Linked DNA regions of Homo sapiens: region 2 is linked to region 1. Evidence: promoter capture Hi-C in human tissues and cell types (Jung and others, 2019). All regions are on one chromosome and are shown on one strand. Each heading gives the region's core, a stretch centred on a gene start or on the middle of the fragment in contact. The rest is flanking DNA. Distances are from core to core; before and after follow the strand shown.

What was found. The method cuts DNA at HindIII sites, captures the fragments that hold promoters and counts their contacts. A contact is called where the count stands out against the background at its distance.
Region 2: a contact is called between a fragment that was not itself captured here and the fragment with the promoter of EMID1 in region 1, in 2 of the 25 tissues and cell types used here (IMR-90 fibroblasts and heart right ventricle).

What each region holds. Positions count from the first base shown.
Region 1 is chr22:29,201,779-29,209,317 of GRCh38, reverse strand. EMID1 (EMI domain containing 1) reads right to left here and starts at 3,422. Exons shown (of 15, transcript NM_133455.4): 1 at 3,179-3,422. The coding sequence starts at 3,279. LOC101929638 (a long non-coding RNA gene) reads left to right here and starts at 3,486. Exons shown (of 5, transcript XR_938134.3): 1 at 3,486-3,847; 2 at 3,997-4,158. RefSeq lists silencers at 2,988-3,047, 3,068-3,227, 3,238-3,327, 6,255-6,374. The HindIII fragment of the contact is 14,358 bases long and covers 1-7,539 here.
Region 2 is chr22:29,106,078-29,113,616 of GRCh38, reverse strand. The region is part of intron 3 of KREMEN1 (kringle containing transmembrane protein 1); the gene reads right to left. Among named protein-coding and RNA genes, the nearest start is that of KREMEN1, 37 kb to the right of the region's middle. The HindIII fragment of the contact is 6,682 bases long and covers 1-6,450 here.

The DNA of each region.
Region 1 (7,539 bases), core at 2,173-4,672:
CACCTCCAGGCCCCCAGAGGCCTCCAGGAGGGGAGAAACAGGCCAGACCAGCTCAGCCTGGCACCGGCCACTCCCACAAAGGCCCCCCACCTACACCCACACTCCACCCCCTGCCACGAGGGGCCCAGGGGACTTTGTCTCTGTAGGGCCCAGGGCTGCGATCCGGAACAGTGATAGGGGCTAATTGCAGGAGGCAGCCAAGCGGGCCCGGGGCCAAGGGCTGTGATGAAAAGGAGAAGAAAGAAAGGACCGGGCGGGCAGGGGTGGTATGATGAGAGCCAGAGCCCCGCAGTAGGGGCGAAGTTCCAGTCCTGGCTCTGCTGCTTCCTACATCGGTGACCTTGGACAAGGCCCTGACCCTCTCTGGACCTCATTTTGTCCATCTGCAAATGGGGACAGCAGAATTTCCTCCAGCGGGGGAAGCTTCACTCAAATCCCTTAGCACAGCGCTAACAGCTATTGTTCATTCCTGTTCCGGGACTGAGGGGCTCAGGCCCAGACATGGGCCCCACACCCAGCAGCTTGGTCCAGGGGCTTCCCTGGGGATTGGGGACACCAGCACAGTACCTTCTTCACAAGGTCTTCCCCTTGGAATAGGGATTATCAGGTTCTGCATTTTACAGAGGGGGAAACAGGCTCCAAGAGAAAGCACCTACCCAGGTCACCCCTGTGGGCATCAGCTGGGATTGCAGCCCCCTAGACAGAGGCTGGGGCAGATCCCCTCCATTTTAGAGCCCTCCATTCTCCCTGATCCTAGGATTTGCCGGAAGGAAGCCGGTGCTGCAGGGGCGAGAGATCTGGGCTGGTGAAGGCTTGAACCCTCAGCTGAAACGCTGAGATGAGTGGTTAAAGGAAGCAGACTCCAGGCTTAGAAGGACCTCAGCGGGGCAGGAAGCAGCCCCAGGGGCAGGGGCAAGCCAAGGCAGCTCTGCATAGCCCTTGGGCACCCTGGTTCCGGGGGTCTCCAAGTGTCACCACCTTCCTGGGGCAAGGGGCGGCCCCCTGGATGCCTTCCCAGGCCACCCCCTCCCCAGGACAAAGCCTCTTTTCTGCGTCTGGTCCCTTGGCTGCCAAGGGGTGCCTGGGGTGCTGGGGTGTGGGTGGCAGGAAGGCTGACAGGGCATGACACCCCCATGCTGTCTCCAGCAACGTGGGGATGGGGCCACAAGTGGAGGTTCTGGTAGCCCACAGACTCCTCAAGCTCCAGGTCCCTACCCCCATGTGACATGATTGATAGCAGGAACCACTGCAGGTGAGGCCCGGTGCTGGTCCTTCCCACGAGGAAAGAAGGAAACTGAGAGCAAAACTGAGACCCATGGCCAGGAAGTGACCCACTTGAGGTCACACATCAAGCCTGTAAGAGCAAGGAATTCTGTCTCCATTCTGTCCAAGGCTGGAGCCCCTAACTCCTAATCATGACTGCAAACCTTTCCTGGTGCCCCCAAGCCGACAACCTCTTTCCCTCTTCCAGCAAGGCTGCTGGAGAGAAAAAGCCACTGGATTTGGAAATCGACTGGTCTGGACTGAGGTGCCACTTGTCCTCTGTAGGCCTCAGCCTCCGTATCTGTACAATGGGTGCAATAGTGTTGCCCACAGGGTTTTTGGGATGCTCAGGCTACTGTGATAGGCTTCTGTCAACACATGGAGTGACAGTCCCCAGTGACCACCAGATACCTGGTTATAGCCATCATCCTGTTCCCACCCAGGAGACCCTGGGAGGTGAGGAGCCCAGGCTGGGAAGCCCTGCCTTGAACTGGCTGCAGGGCGGTCTGGGCCTTAAGCTGTCGCCACCATCATCCTGAGCCTAACAGTGGGATTTCTGAGTTCATAGTCTCTGTCCTCTTAGCATCTGGGATCCTGGCGGCTCACTTCCATGCTCTGGGCAGGTCATGTTCCCTCTCTGAGCCTCATCTTCCTCCTCTATGAAACAGAATCATAAAGAGCATACCTCCAAGCAGCTGGGAGGATTCTGGAGCTGATGAATGCAGGTAACGGAGCCGACTCAGGCTAACTGTTGTCTGCACACAATAGGTGGTGGCTGTAACATCTGCCACACGTCCACCCCTGTCTCAGACAACTGCTCTTCTGGCCTCTGATGCTTCAACCACCTCCGTCCTCCAGCCCTGCCCATGTCAACTGCTCTTGCTAGCCCAGCAGGGGCATGCTGGCCCCTGACCACTGGGAAAGGAGAATTTCTGAAAAGAATTAAAGAATTGAGGCCGTAGGGGGTGGGGGCCGCGCAGGCCTTTGAATGGGATGAAAAGGCCTGGAGAGGCCTGGCTACTCCACATTGTCTGCCTTGGACAACGGCGGCTGGCCTTTAGGAGGGGACCCTCGCTGGGGCTGCAGCCAGGACAGAGGCCAGGACAGGTTCAAACACTGTCATCAAGGATAGAAGGGCAGATTTGCAACCTAGCTCTTCAGTGAATAGCCCATGAGGCTAAAAGATGATGCCAATTCCCTAGGGTCTCAGTTTGCTTAACCGTTGAATGGGGACAGTTTTCCCTACCTCATTCGGTCCTTCAAGGATTGATGAGGACACTATATATAATAATGGGCCCCACCATGTCAGGTTCTGGGAGCTCCTCCGTAAAGGCCAGCAGGGAGGAGGTTCCCCGCCGCTAGGAGAGCAGAAGGAAGACTGTGCTCCCTCTTTTCTCTGTCCAAAATGCCAGGTCCCTGGGGTATCTCCGACACTGACCCACTGGGCTGTGAGACTCCACCCCAGTCCCTCCTCCGAGGGAGATAAATAGCCTGGGTACAAAACAAACAAACAAAAAACAAAACAAAGCAAAAAAACAGGAACAGGGAAAAGGGGAGAGAGGGTCCGAGAAGAGTCGGCTAGGGGGTGTCATAGGCCTTTCCCAAGTGCAGGGGGAGGGGCCCTAGGGACAGGGGAACAGAAGGGCCAGGGCTTCGCCCTCGTTGCGCCCCTTCCCCCTCCTCTCGAGCTCCTGGGTTGAAAGGGAGGGAGTAGGGGAGGCAGCCAGCTCCGACACATGGAGTAGGGGACCCCGCACTCGCGGGAGCCTCAGCCGGACCGCGGGATGGCCGTGTCCCTGCCCTCACCCGGGCTGGGGACTGGATCGCCCTCCAATCCCAGCCCTTCCTGGAGGTGGGGGCGTGTGCGCGCCGGGACCCTCGGCCAGCGGGGTGCAAAGGCGCCGGGAGCTCTTACCTGCGTCCGGAGAACGGAGCTGCCCCGATGCTCCACGCAGCGCCGCCTCCCGGGAGCAGGAGCCCGAGGCAGAGCAGCGCCCAAGCCCGCGGGCCGCCCATGCTGCACCAGGCGCCCTCCGCGCGCGGCCCCTCGCGGTCGCCGCCCCCAGCCTGTCCTCCCCGCCTGCCTGCCCGCGCCGCCAGCCGCCCCGGACGCGCGGAGCCCGGTTTCCAGCTCCGCGGCCGGAGGGCGGGCAGGAGGCGGGCGGGCGGGGGCGGGGGCGCGCGCTCCCGGCCTCGCCCGGCCCCTCTGCGCTGCCCCCCGCCCCCTGCGCCGCCGCTGCCAACCCGGAAGGAGCCCGGAGGGGCCCGGGCGGCCAGGGCGCCCCCGCCAGGAGGCCCGCCAGGTGTCCACCTGAGCCCCACGCCCTGCGCCGCGGGGCCCTTTTGGGGGCGGGGTGCCAGCTCCGAGGTGTCCTCCCACGGGCTGTAGACTGGGAAACTGAGGCCCGGGCCACGGTCCCAGACGCAGCCGGGACCCGAACCCACCTCACCTGAGCGAATGATATCCGGGACTCATCCTTTTTCGACACCTTTGCGGGATCCAGCCCTCCAAGGAAAGCTTCCTGAGCAGTGCGCGCCACGTGTATTGGGCACCTCACCGCGGCCACTTCACATCCTATCTCAGGTGACTCTTCAAGCCACTCTGCTCGAACTGGGCACAATATCCCCATTTTACAGAAGAGAAAACTGAGGCCCAGGCACTCGCAGTCTCCCTAGGAGGAGATCTGGGCTGACCCCATAAGTGCAGAGTCTGTTCTTATTCTCATTTTACAGGTGGAGAAACTAAGCCACAGAAAGGAGCTGTCATTTACCTAAAGCACCGTGGCAGGGGTTTGGCAGAGCCAGGATTTGTACCCAGATCGCCTGACTTCGGAGAGTAACAGCTCTTAACCACAGCACTTCGGTCTATGCCTTGATTTCACCATATGTAACAAGGTAAGAATTGGTGTTGGGTGGTTTCATCTGGGGTACATGGATGGGCTTCTGGAGGAATGGCTCTACATCCCACAAAGGTATATGTAAGCGTAGTGTGTGTGTGCAGGGGTGCATGTGTGTGTCGTATGTGTGTATGATGGATGTGTGTGCATGCTTGATGTGGATTTATGTGCATGTGTGTTATGTGTGTGTCTGTGATAGGAGTGTGTGTTTATAGGGAGAGACCAGAGCTCTCATCAGAGGGGACCCAGACCCCCAATCTCCCAGGGCAGTCTCTAACCCCGCCTTCTGCCTGGATCGATGGGCAGTAGTTAGGCCTGGGCTGGGGAAGCCCTTGCCCAGCTTGGCTACTTCCTGTTATGGCTTGTCCAGACCCACGGTCCCTTCTAGAAACACTCCCCAGAAAGGATCTGCCAGTCACTGGATTGCCCCTCCTGGACTCACCAGGGGCAGGCAGCATAGGCCACCATAGGCAGGCAGGCAGGCAGGACGGGGGATCCATCACCAGTGTGTCCACATAGAGAAAGCTGTTGCCCTGTCCCAAGGGACAGGTAGTGAGAGCTGGGTTCAAACCCTGCCTCTGCTACTTCTGCTCCAGTTAGCTCAGGCAAGTCTTGCCCCTCTCGCAGCCTCAGTGTTTCTTTTGCAGGGAGGACAGTTGTACATTCGTTACAGGAGTGTGGGAAGGATTGAGATATCATGGTAATGGCCTGTCACCCACTCTCCCCTACTTCACATAGTCCCCCAAGGGCTCCCTCTCCCTCCAGCGACATCACCATGGTGCCAATGTTGCCCCCTTGGGGAGCTGTTGCCCTCCTTTTCACGTGAAATTTTGGCACATCTCCTGTGCCATCTCTCTGACCTCCAAGAAATGCAGCTTTGTACCTCTCTGGTTAGCCCTTGTTTTTGACACAGCTAGATCAGTGACTTAACACCCTGGATAATTCGTCACTCCTGAGGAGCCATGCCCCCAAGAGGATGCCAGGCCTGTCTGAAACCCCAATCAAGCGGCCCAGATAAAAACCCATCACCCCAGGGGTGCTTTGAGCTGTTTAGGAAGCTCAAACATGCAGCTGTTTAGGAAGGAGAAGCACTGGATAATGCCTTGGAGGGACTGAGAGGTGTCTAGGGTGTCAGATGGGTGCCACAGAATGAGGAGGCACTACTAGGTCTGTTTGCAACATGTCTGAGATGCTCCTGCGATTAATGGCATCCACATTTCTTAACCAATGCCATCAAACTTGTGGCAGACTCAGGCCGCTGCAGAATTTCCCCAGCAAGAGACTCTCCTGGTAAAAGCTGTTATCAACATTTTCACATCAGAGAGGGGCCTGTCCTTACTGAGGCTGGGATTCCCGGGTCCAGGGTATTTATTTATCACTGTAGACCCGGATAAATAAATATAGATTTATTTATCACTATTTATCACCTTGTGGCTGTGTGGCCTGATGGATACACCCCACAAGCCATGTGACCCATAGGCCAGGGTGTCAATTCCAGAGCAACCTCTGGGAGCTGTGTGACCCAAGACAAGTCACTTCCCCTCTCTGAGCTTCATTTCTTTGCCTGAAAAAACAAGCCATGGGATCTTCTTTTTTTTTTTTTTTTTTTTTTTTTGAGACAGGGTCTCACACTGTCACCCAGGCTGGAGTGCAGTGGTGCCATTTCCGCTCACTGCAGCCTCAACCTCCTGGGCTCAAGCGATTCTCCTGCCTCAGCCTCCTGATTAGCTAGGACTACAGGTGTATGACAGCACATCTGGCTCATTTTTAATATTTTTTGTAGACACAGGGTCTTGCTCTGTTGCTCAGGCTGGTCTCGAACTCCTGGCTTCAAGCAACCCTCCCACATAGGACTTTTAAGGTCCCTCTGGCTCAAGAGTCTGAGCTTCTGGGAAAGTGTGAAAACGTCAGGTCTCCCCTTCAGTGGCCCTGGGGCACAGCTGAAGCCCCCGTTTAAGGGCTCACTTTCCTGTTGGATGACAGCCGGCTTTCTGGTCCTCTTTCCTAGTTGAGTGGAAAGGCAGGAAATGCCGTGGGGGCCTGGGGTTTTGATTATTTGAGGTTTCAATGTTTGCTGAAACTGAGAGGAGAGGGGCCGGCTAGCTTGAGGTCTCAGGGCCTGTCCCTGCGGGCGGGGCCTCCCCCCTGGGGGCCTGGTCCTTTCCACTGCCAAGACGAGACCACAACCGCCAGTAACGACAGCAGCTTCCGTTCCCCATGCTGACTGTGCGCCAGGCGCTGTGCTAAGCGTTTTGCTTGTATTGTCTGCTGCGATCCTCTCTGCCACCCAGGAGGAAGCCTTATTGTCCCCAGGTGTGGGGCTCACGGCTAGTGAGTGATGGGCAGCTGTCTATGAGTTTACCCACCAGACCACACTGCCACCCACTGGCTGAGCCCTGAAGCAGGTCTTCTTTGGGGTAAGAGATAACTTGGCTCACATTTGGAGTCCCATCTTGGGGCTGATGAGGCCAGAGAGAATGTGTGGACACATACCCAGACCTGGACCCACACCCAGATGGACCACACAGGGACACACACAGACACCCTCCCAGGGCAGGCCATGGGATCCGGGAAACACAGCCCCTCTGGGGCAGATTCACTGACGCATCCACCCTGGCCTAGTCCAAACAGGAAATGTTTTATCCTCTTAACAAACAACCTGGGCGGCAGCCTCCTTCCCCTGTGAAGTCTCTGGGGGCCGTAGCTAAGGGACTCTTTCCTCCCGCTGTGTCCTACAGGACTGTCTCTCCAGCTTGGGTGTGCCCCGTCATATCAGCCCTGTGCACACATTAGCTCGTGTGAGCCCAGGCACTCTTCCCATATCGTGCCTGTTCCATAGGTGAGGAAGCAGCCCAAGGGGTGCCCAGAGCCCATGGCCGCAGCCCCCAGGGGCCCAGGCCTAATTGCCAAGCAGTGCCTGGACACCATGAAAGGGAAGGGACCGTGTAAGCCACAGCCTTAAAAGCTGCTGACCAGACAAAGGACAGGGCCCAAGAGCAATGGCTGCTCTCTGCACTTTTGATCAGGGGGTTTGGCCCTCCTGTCCCTGGCTCTCAGAGATGGAAGCACCCTGCAGGGCCAGGGTCGGGGCGCTGGGAGACCTAGGCAGCCTGCAGCTGCCCAGCCGAGTTATTTATGCTCCATGGAGCTGCCCTTCTCATTCACCCAGCTCATTCTTTCCCCAGAGAGCTGGGACTGGGGCTGGAAGGGAGTAGTGGGAGGAAGGAAGCTGTCAGAAAATCATAAATTAGGGCTTGGGAGGGCCTTCCTGTCCTCTGGAATCTCCCGTTTTGCATCTTTGAGGGGGGTACAGGGGGACGACAACAGAATGACAGGGCCGGACATAAGCGAGCATGGCAGGACAGGGTACCTCTTGTTG
Region 2 (7,539 bases), core at 1,860-4,359, 95 kb after region 1:
GAATGAGAATCAATACGGACCTCAAAGGGTTCTTGTGAGAAATAAAATGAGATAATGTAAATAAAGTAAATACCACAAGGCCTAGCAGAATAGAATGTGCTGAATAAATAGTGTTTGTCATCATTATATACAATAAGGCTTTCATCATTCACCACACAAACAAGAACAACTTGCTGAATAACAGAAAAATAAAATAGGCTGATTTAAAAGACAAAAATCAAAGGCAGCCACCTCAGAAAACGGTTTGATTCCGGATATTAAAATATTAATCTCTTACATCTGTATAGCATACAGCACATTTTCACATAAGTCAGCTCACAGGAAGCTCTAGCCCCTTCAGGGAGGCAGGACAGATGATATTATTCCTACTGGACAAAGAAGAAACCAGTCTAACAAGGTTAAAGGCCTTGTGTGGGCACACATAAGGCAGAATGGAGAGCCAGGGTAAGCTCCAGGATTGCCGACTCCCATTCCATGGGTTTTTGTTTTTGTTTTTCATGTCTCTGACCCCTTTTCTTATAGGACCAGTCTGGGCAACTAAATGAAAGTGACTCCCTGAGACCTGAGATTCAAGACTGAATTCTCAAACACATTAGTCCCTCAACACTCTGTTCACCACGAGGGAAGCCTCTGCGGTCCCAGTCAGCCTCTGAGGGGGCCACTGCCTCTGACTTGTCCTGGAAAGTGTGGCTCGAAGTCTAGTCGGAGAAGACACGTCATGTTGCTTCAAAAGCATTACTACTCAACTGAGTGGATTTCTAGATCGTGTCCCACCCTTAGCGCTTCCCAGAAGCAGGGAGGAAAAGCCAATTTGAAAAAGGATATTTGTCTTCAAATTCCTTTTTCATTTCAAGCTTACTTTGAAATCCTTGTGGCTTGGTCATGCATTTTTCCTCTTACCAAAGAGGCTTCATCACTTTCAATTTTTAAAAAATTATCTTAACATACAAATGGACCCCTTGTTTATCTTAGCTGAGGCTTCAAAACTTGTGAAAATTAATTACAAATATTCAGATGTTGAAGATAAAAATTTTGGAGGAGTTAAAGAGAGAAGGTCCTCCATTCACATTAACCCAGGAACTATTGTTCTTTTACTATCATAAGAAACAACTGGGAAGCAATCAGGCAGGCCCACTAAACATTGTTACATTTGAATATAACTGTGGCTTCATTGTGAAGGTACTGCACACACCTCCATGGGGGCCTCCATGGCTGACAGCTGTTCTTTGAGAACCACCTATTACCCACAGCACCTTCTCAGAGCATCTGCTCCCATAACTACTGCTGGCTGGGGACAAGACAAAGGGCTCCATCCTCTGGCCACAGCTGCCTCACACTGGGGCCACCAGATTCTCTTTCTTAGGAAGCTGGAATTGGGATCCGCTCAGTGAATGCAAGCACTGAAATTGTAGGGATTTGTCAAGTAGGAGTTGAGGCAACCAAACTCAAGTTTGAGCCACGTGAGTGGATGAATGAGCCAATTCTGCTGGTCCACGAAGAGGAAGAAGGATGGATAACAAGCTGAGAGAGAGGCAGAGAAGGGAGATGAAGTGGCCACAGAGACAGATAGTGAAAGTCCCTGCTTTCTTTCTAGTTTCTTGGGATACAGGGTTTGGGTTCTGTGATACATCCCAATGGTCTTCAAATTGATTTCTTTTGCTCAAGTTAGCTTGAATGAGTTCTAGTCCTGGTAACCAAATCATTATCGAAGACAGAAGGCACGGCCATCATAGTAAAGGCTCAGTTTGAATCTAAATCTTCAGCTGGTAATTCACTAAGAAGCAGCCCTGACTATTATTATGTTTTCTATTCCACTGCTCTCACCAGATCTGGGATATTTGCTTTAAGAAACCAGATGCTAAGTTCTTGTCCTATGTCTTAAAAAACTAAAAAACTCTTTCCAAGGCTCTGCAGAGCTCCTTTTTTTTTTTTCCTAAGTAAAATCTGCTTCTTCAGAAATGATGTAACTCCTCTGCTAATTTTTTTTTTTTTTTTTTTTTTTTGAGACGGAGTCTCGCTCTGTCGCCCAGGCTGGAGTGCAGTGGCGCGATCTCAGCTCACTGCAAGCTCTGCCTCCCGGGTTCACGCCATTCTCCTGCCTCAGCCTCCCGCGTAGCTGGGACTACAGGCGCCCGCCACCACGCCCGGCTAATTTTTTGTATTTTTTTAGTAGAGACGGGGTTTCACTGTGTTAGCCAGGATGGTCTCGATCTCCTGACCTCATGATCCGCCCGCCTCGGCCTCCCAAAGTGCTGGGATTACAGGCGTGAGCCACCGCACCCGGCCTAATTTTTTTTTTTTTTTTTAATAGAGACAGGGTCTCACTCTGTTGCCCAGGCTGGAGTGCAGTGATACAATCATACTCACTGCAGTCTTGAACTCCTGAGCTCAAGTGATCTTCCCATCTCAGCCTCCCGAGTAGCTGGGACTACCAGTGTGTACTACCATGGCTGGCTAATTATTTGTGTATCTTGTAGAGATGGGGTCTCACTATGTTGCCCAGGCTTGTCTCAAACTTGTGGCCTCCAGTGATCCTCCTGCCTCAGCCTCCCAAAGTGCTTCTCTGCTGATTTTAAATGTCATTTAACTCTGTGTCAATACTATCTTCTGCCTCAAGGACCCCACACTGGTGCCTCAGTAGCTGATTTCTCCCCTCCATGGAAAGAAAAACTATGTACATCTGAGACGCTGCAGCTGGTATCCTACTTCTTTCAGAGCATCAACAGGTTAAGTGTGGATTCATCCACACCCTCAGACCCGTGACCGTAAGCTCACTGCACCCTGTGCTGTTCATCTGCAACTTCCGTTCCAAATCTGACAGCTGCCATCTTGGTCCAACCCCTTCTCATGATATGGCCCCACACTACCTCTGTAACTTTATTTCTAAACATAAACTTCCTTTTCAGTCACTCTGATTCTTCCAACAGTCTTAATTGTGCCCCCGAGTCTTACAGCAACACCCCCAAATAAATAAGTAAGCACAGCTTTTTCTTCCTCTGTGGAATTCTGCCCTTAGGGGGAGGTAGTAAGAGTTCCTAAAAATCCTGATCCCATAAGGCCAGGATCTATCACAGCAGTAGTTCCCTCCTGGTGGGAGTTCCTTCTCTGAAACTTAGTTTCTGGTGAGTTAATGTGATAAAGAGTCAAAAGAGGCTCTAGTAATTTCTCCCCTCCCTGTACATGTGTGTTGCTCCCACTTTAATAGATTTCCCCACTTCTTAAATCGGGCCTTGCCACTTGCTTTGATCCATAGAATGTGGTGGACTTCTTCTGAGTTCATGCCTTAAGAGGAATGGCAGCTTCTGCTGCTTCTCTCTTGGAAGCCAGCCACCGTATAAGAAGTCTGAATACCCTGCTGTTGAGAGAAGTCACTGGATAGAGGTCTGAAGCCACCTTGAATGCCAGCAGAGCTCCCAGTTGAATGCAGGCACCTCACTAAGCCCAGGTGACAGCAGCAGAAGAACCACTCAGCTGAAACTCAGTCGACCCAGAGAACTGGGAGAAATGATAAACTGTTGGCGCTTAAGTCACTGCGGCTGGGGATGGCTCATTACACAGCAATAAACAACTAGTACACATTACTTGGTAAAAGGTCAGTCCAAGTTCAAGAGGAATGATAACTGCTGTGTCCCTGGGAAGAAAAGCTCGTTTGTTGACTTGGACTTTTTTTTTCAGGGACACCACAAATATCCCAGGCAAGGAACCTCTTCCTGCTGTTTTATCCCTTACATATTCCACTTGTCAACAAGTTCTGTCTTCTTCCTAAGTGCATCTTGGACTTAATCCTTCCTGTCTTGTCTCACTGCTGCCATGATAGCCCAGGCCCTTATCCCTTGAGTTTAGAAATCTACACGCATCCTCTCTTCCCCAAACTTTCTTCCTTTGATCCGTCCTGTAAATGACACTGGACTTGCTTCTCTTCCTAAACTAGGGCTTTCAGCATATCAGTCCCATCTAATTAACTCTTGCTTTCCAGGTCTGACCTGGTTCCTTTTTGTCCACTCCTCTACTCAGGAAGCCTGGATCCCAACCCACACACTCATCAATTCTGTGCTTCCTCCAAGCCTCTGTCCTGCTGTTCCCTGACCCATTCAGCCACCAGCCACCTTTCTTCCAATTTCCACAATCTTTACTGAGTCCTCTTGTCTTCAGAAACTCACAACACTCTACCTCATAATTCAACACTTATTTATATGATTGGTGTGCTGGTCTGCAATTTTCTCTTAGGTTTATAACTCAGATTCCCAATTACATCATAAGATTGAGGGGCTATTTCTTCCTTATAGGCAAGTGCTGGTATAAAGATTTTCAGTAAAGTCATCCCTATCAATTTGAATGAGTTTTCCTTTTTAAGTCCCTAGTGTGCTTTACACAACTGTGCTTTAGAACATTTGTATCTGTGACTGAACTGATATCCATTTGGTTCAGAAAGTCTGTATTTTTTTAATGGAAAATTAAATAATACCCACTGGCAAAAACCAAAAAATAATTGAGTACATAAAACCTCATTGTAGGAACAAACATGGGAGCCAGGCAGAGTGGCTCACACCTGGAATCCTAGTACTTTGGGAGGCCGAGGTGGGAGGATTGCTTGAGCCCAGGAGTTTGAGACCAGCCTGGGCAACATAGCAAGACTCCATCTCTACAAAAAGTAAAAATATTTGCCAGGCATAGTAGTGTGCGCCTGTTGTCCCAGCTACTTGGGACACTGAGGTGGGAGGATCACTTGAGTCTGGGAGGTCAAGGCTGCAGTGATCCATGATCGTGCCACTGCACTCCAGCCTGGGCAACAGAGCAAGACCCTGTCACAAACAAACAACAAACAAACGTGGGGCCTCTTGTGTTCACCGAGTTCAGTGCTGCAACAGGCCACAGGGAGCAGCCACTGCAGCAGCTGATGCCTGCTCCTAAGACCCATGGTCAGTTAGATAAAAAAGAGATGGGCAGAAATAAAATGCAGGTTATGAATAACATATTCTAGGAATTAGATGACAGGGACATACTAACGGTAGTCCATTCCCTGGGGAGAGCATACCATCACAATACCTGTTGGTACTTTCATGTCTACCTGATATGTGCTAGGACTTAGGGCAGCATGCATTTTATTCATTTAATCTTCAAAAAAAACTCTGGAAGGCACCAATGAGGAAACCCAGGCACAACTGAGAGTCATTGTGCCTAAAGCTATTAAGCAGATAATGATTCAAACCTAACTGGGTGTGACTCAGATGTCCACATTCTTTCCATCTTTCCACCAGCTTGTGTTGTCTCTTATGGGAAGAGAGGAAGAGATAAGACTTCATGGCATCAAGAAAGAATTTTGTCTTTTGAGACAGGGTTTCACTCTCATCGCCCAGACTAAAGTGCAATGGCGCAATCTAGGCTTACCGCAACCTCCGCCTCCTGGGTTCAAGCGATTCTCCTGCCTTAGCCTCCCAAGTAGCTGGACTACAGGCTACATGCCCATCACACCTGGCTAATTTTTGTATTTTTGGTAGAGACAGGGTTTCACCACATTGCCCAGGCTGGCGTTGAACTCGTGGGCTCAAGCGATCTGCCCATCTTGGCCTCCCAAAGTGTTGGGATTACAGGCATGAGCCACCACACCCAGCCAAGAAAGAATACTTAGCAAGCACTTTTACACTCTCCACTGTGCTAGGTGTGGGGAAGATTGTTGAAATATATGGCTTTTTTCAGTGGCTACCAAGGAGAGGCTTAAAGAGGTAAAGCCTCCATAAATTCCATCAGCACTCTTCCACAAATAAAAGTACAATCAAGTAAAACAAGGGTGCCTGTGATGCGAGCTCAGCCTCAACCTCCTGAGCTCAAGCAATCCTCCTGAGTAGCTGGGACCATAGGCACATGCTACCATACCTGGTGAATTTTTAAGTTTTCTGTAAAGACAGGGTCTCCCTATGTTGCCCAGGCTAGTCTTGAACTCCTTGGCTCTAGCGATCCTCCCACCTTGGTCTCCCAAAGTGCTGGGATTATAAGCATGAGCCACCTCACCTGGCCTATTAATGTTCATTTCAATATTGCTTTGGCTATCAACAAAAGTTGGAATTTTCACTTTAGCTGTAAAGTATAAATGGTACACAGCCAAGTGTGGTGGCTCATGCCTGTAATCCCAGCACTTTGGGAAGCCGAGGCAGGCGAATCACAAGGTCAGGAGTTTGAGACCAGCCTGGCCAACATGGTGAACCCCGTCTCTACTAAAAATACAAAAATTAGCTGGGCACGGTTGTGGGCACCTGTAATCCAGCTACTTGGGAGGCTGAGGCAGGAGAATCTCTTGAAACCAGAAGGCAGAGGTTGCAGTGAGCTGAGATCACACCACTGCACTCCAGCCTGGGCAACAAGAGCAAAACTCTGTCTCAAAAAAAAAAAAAAAAAAAAAAGTATAAATGGTACACGGGGATGTGTCATTTCAGAGAAGGTGAATTTCAGCCCACAGCAGTGAAGACATGGTATTGGGGGAGAACCTAAGGCCCAGACAAAGCTGCTGACGAACTGTTTTGTGCAGTGGGTCCAACCCCAGGGGAGCCCTTTCCTCGCTGAGAACAGCTGGTCTGGGGACACCCACAGAGATAGCCCAGCATACTGCAGAGTGGCTCTGTTGGGCAGCAAATGCTTCCCAGATCCCATCTCAGCCTGCTTTACTCCTGGGGCTTAGGATTTCCCAAAGCCAAAGAAGAAAATAAAATGACTTAGAGCTAACAGCATGAACTGCAGACCCTCTGTCGCCACTGAGTTAACCCTTTGGTTTCCACAATGTCACAAAAGCAATCTTAATAATTCACCATACTATCAGAATTTCAAACTTTAATTCCCAAACAATTCACAAAGAAAATTCTGAAGAATGACCTCAACAGTAGCCGGAATCCATCCCAGAGCCCCTGTTTTCAAGGAAATAAAGGAAATGGGACTGTTCTCAAGTGCTAGAAGGAAAAGGCACTGGTCTAGCTATCAGGAGTCCTGGTCAAAAATCCTGTTTGACTCAGACTGTAATCCTCATCAAATCACTTAACTATCTGGGCTCAATTTTCTTATCTGAGAAATGGAGGCGGGAGAGTAGACATGCCACCTGCTTCATAGGATTGTTGAAAACGTTAAATAAGATAATGTGTTGGGAGGCCGAGGCGGGCGGATCACGAGGTCAGGAGATTGAGACCATCCTGGCTAACAAGGTGAAACCCCGTCTCTATTAAAAATACAAAAAAAAAAAAAAATTAGCTGGGCGTGATGGCGGGCGCCTGGAGTCCCAGCTACTCAGAAGGCTGAGGCAGGAGAATGGCGTGAACCCGGGAGGCGGAGCTTGCAGTCAGCCAAGATCACACCACTGCACTCCAGCCTGGGTGACAGAGTGAGACTCTGTCTCAAAAAGAAAAAAAAAAAAAAGATAATGTGAATATAAGTGCTTTTTGTACATAGTAGGTACTCAGCAATAGCTGAAACATACTAGAAAGCAGTGCTGACATTAAAACACAGAAAGTGCTGACAGAAACAAAACATTTTCTATAATTGAGAAACTGCCTTGAC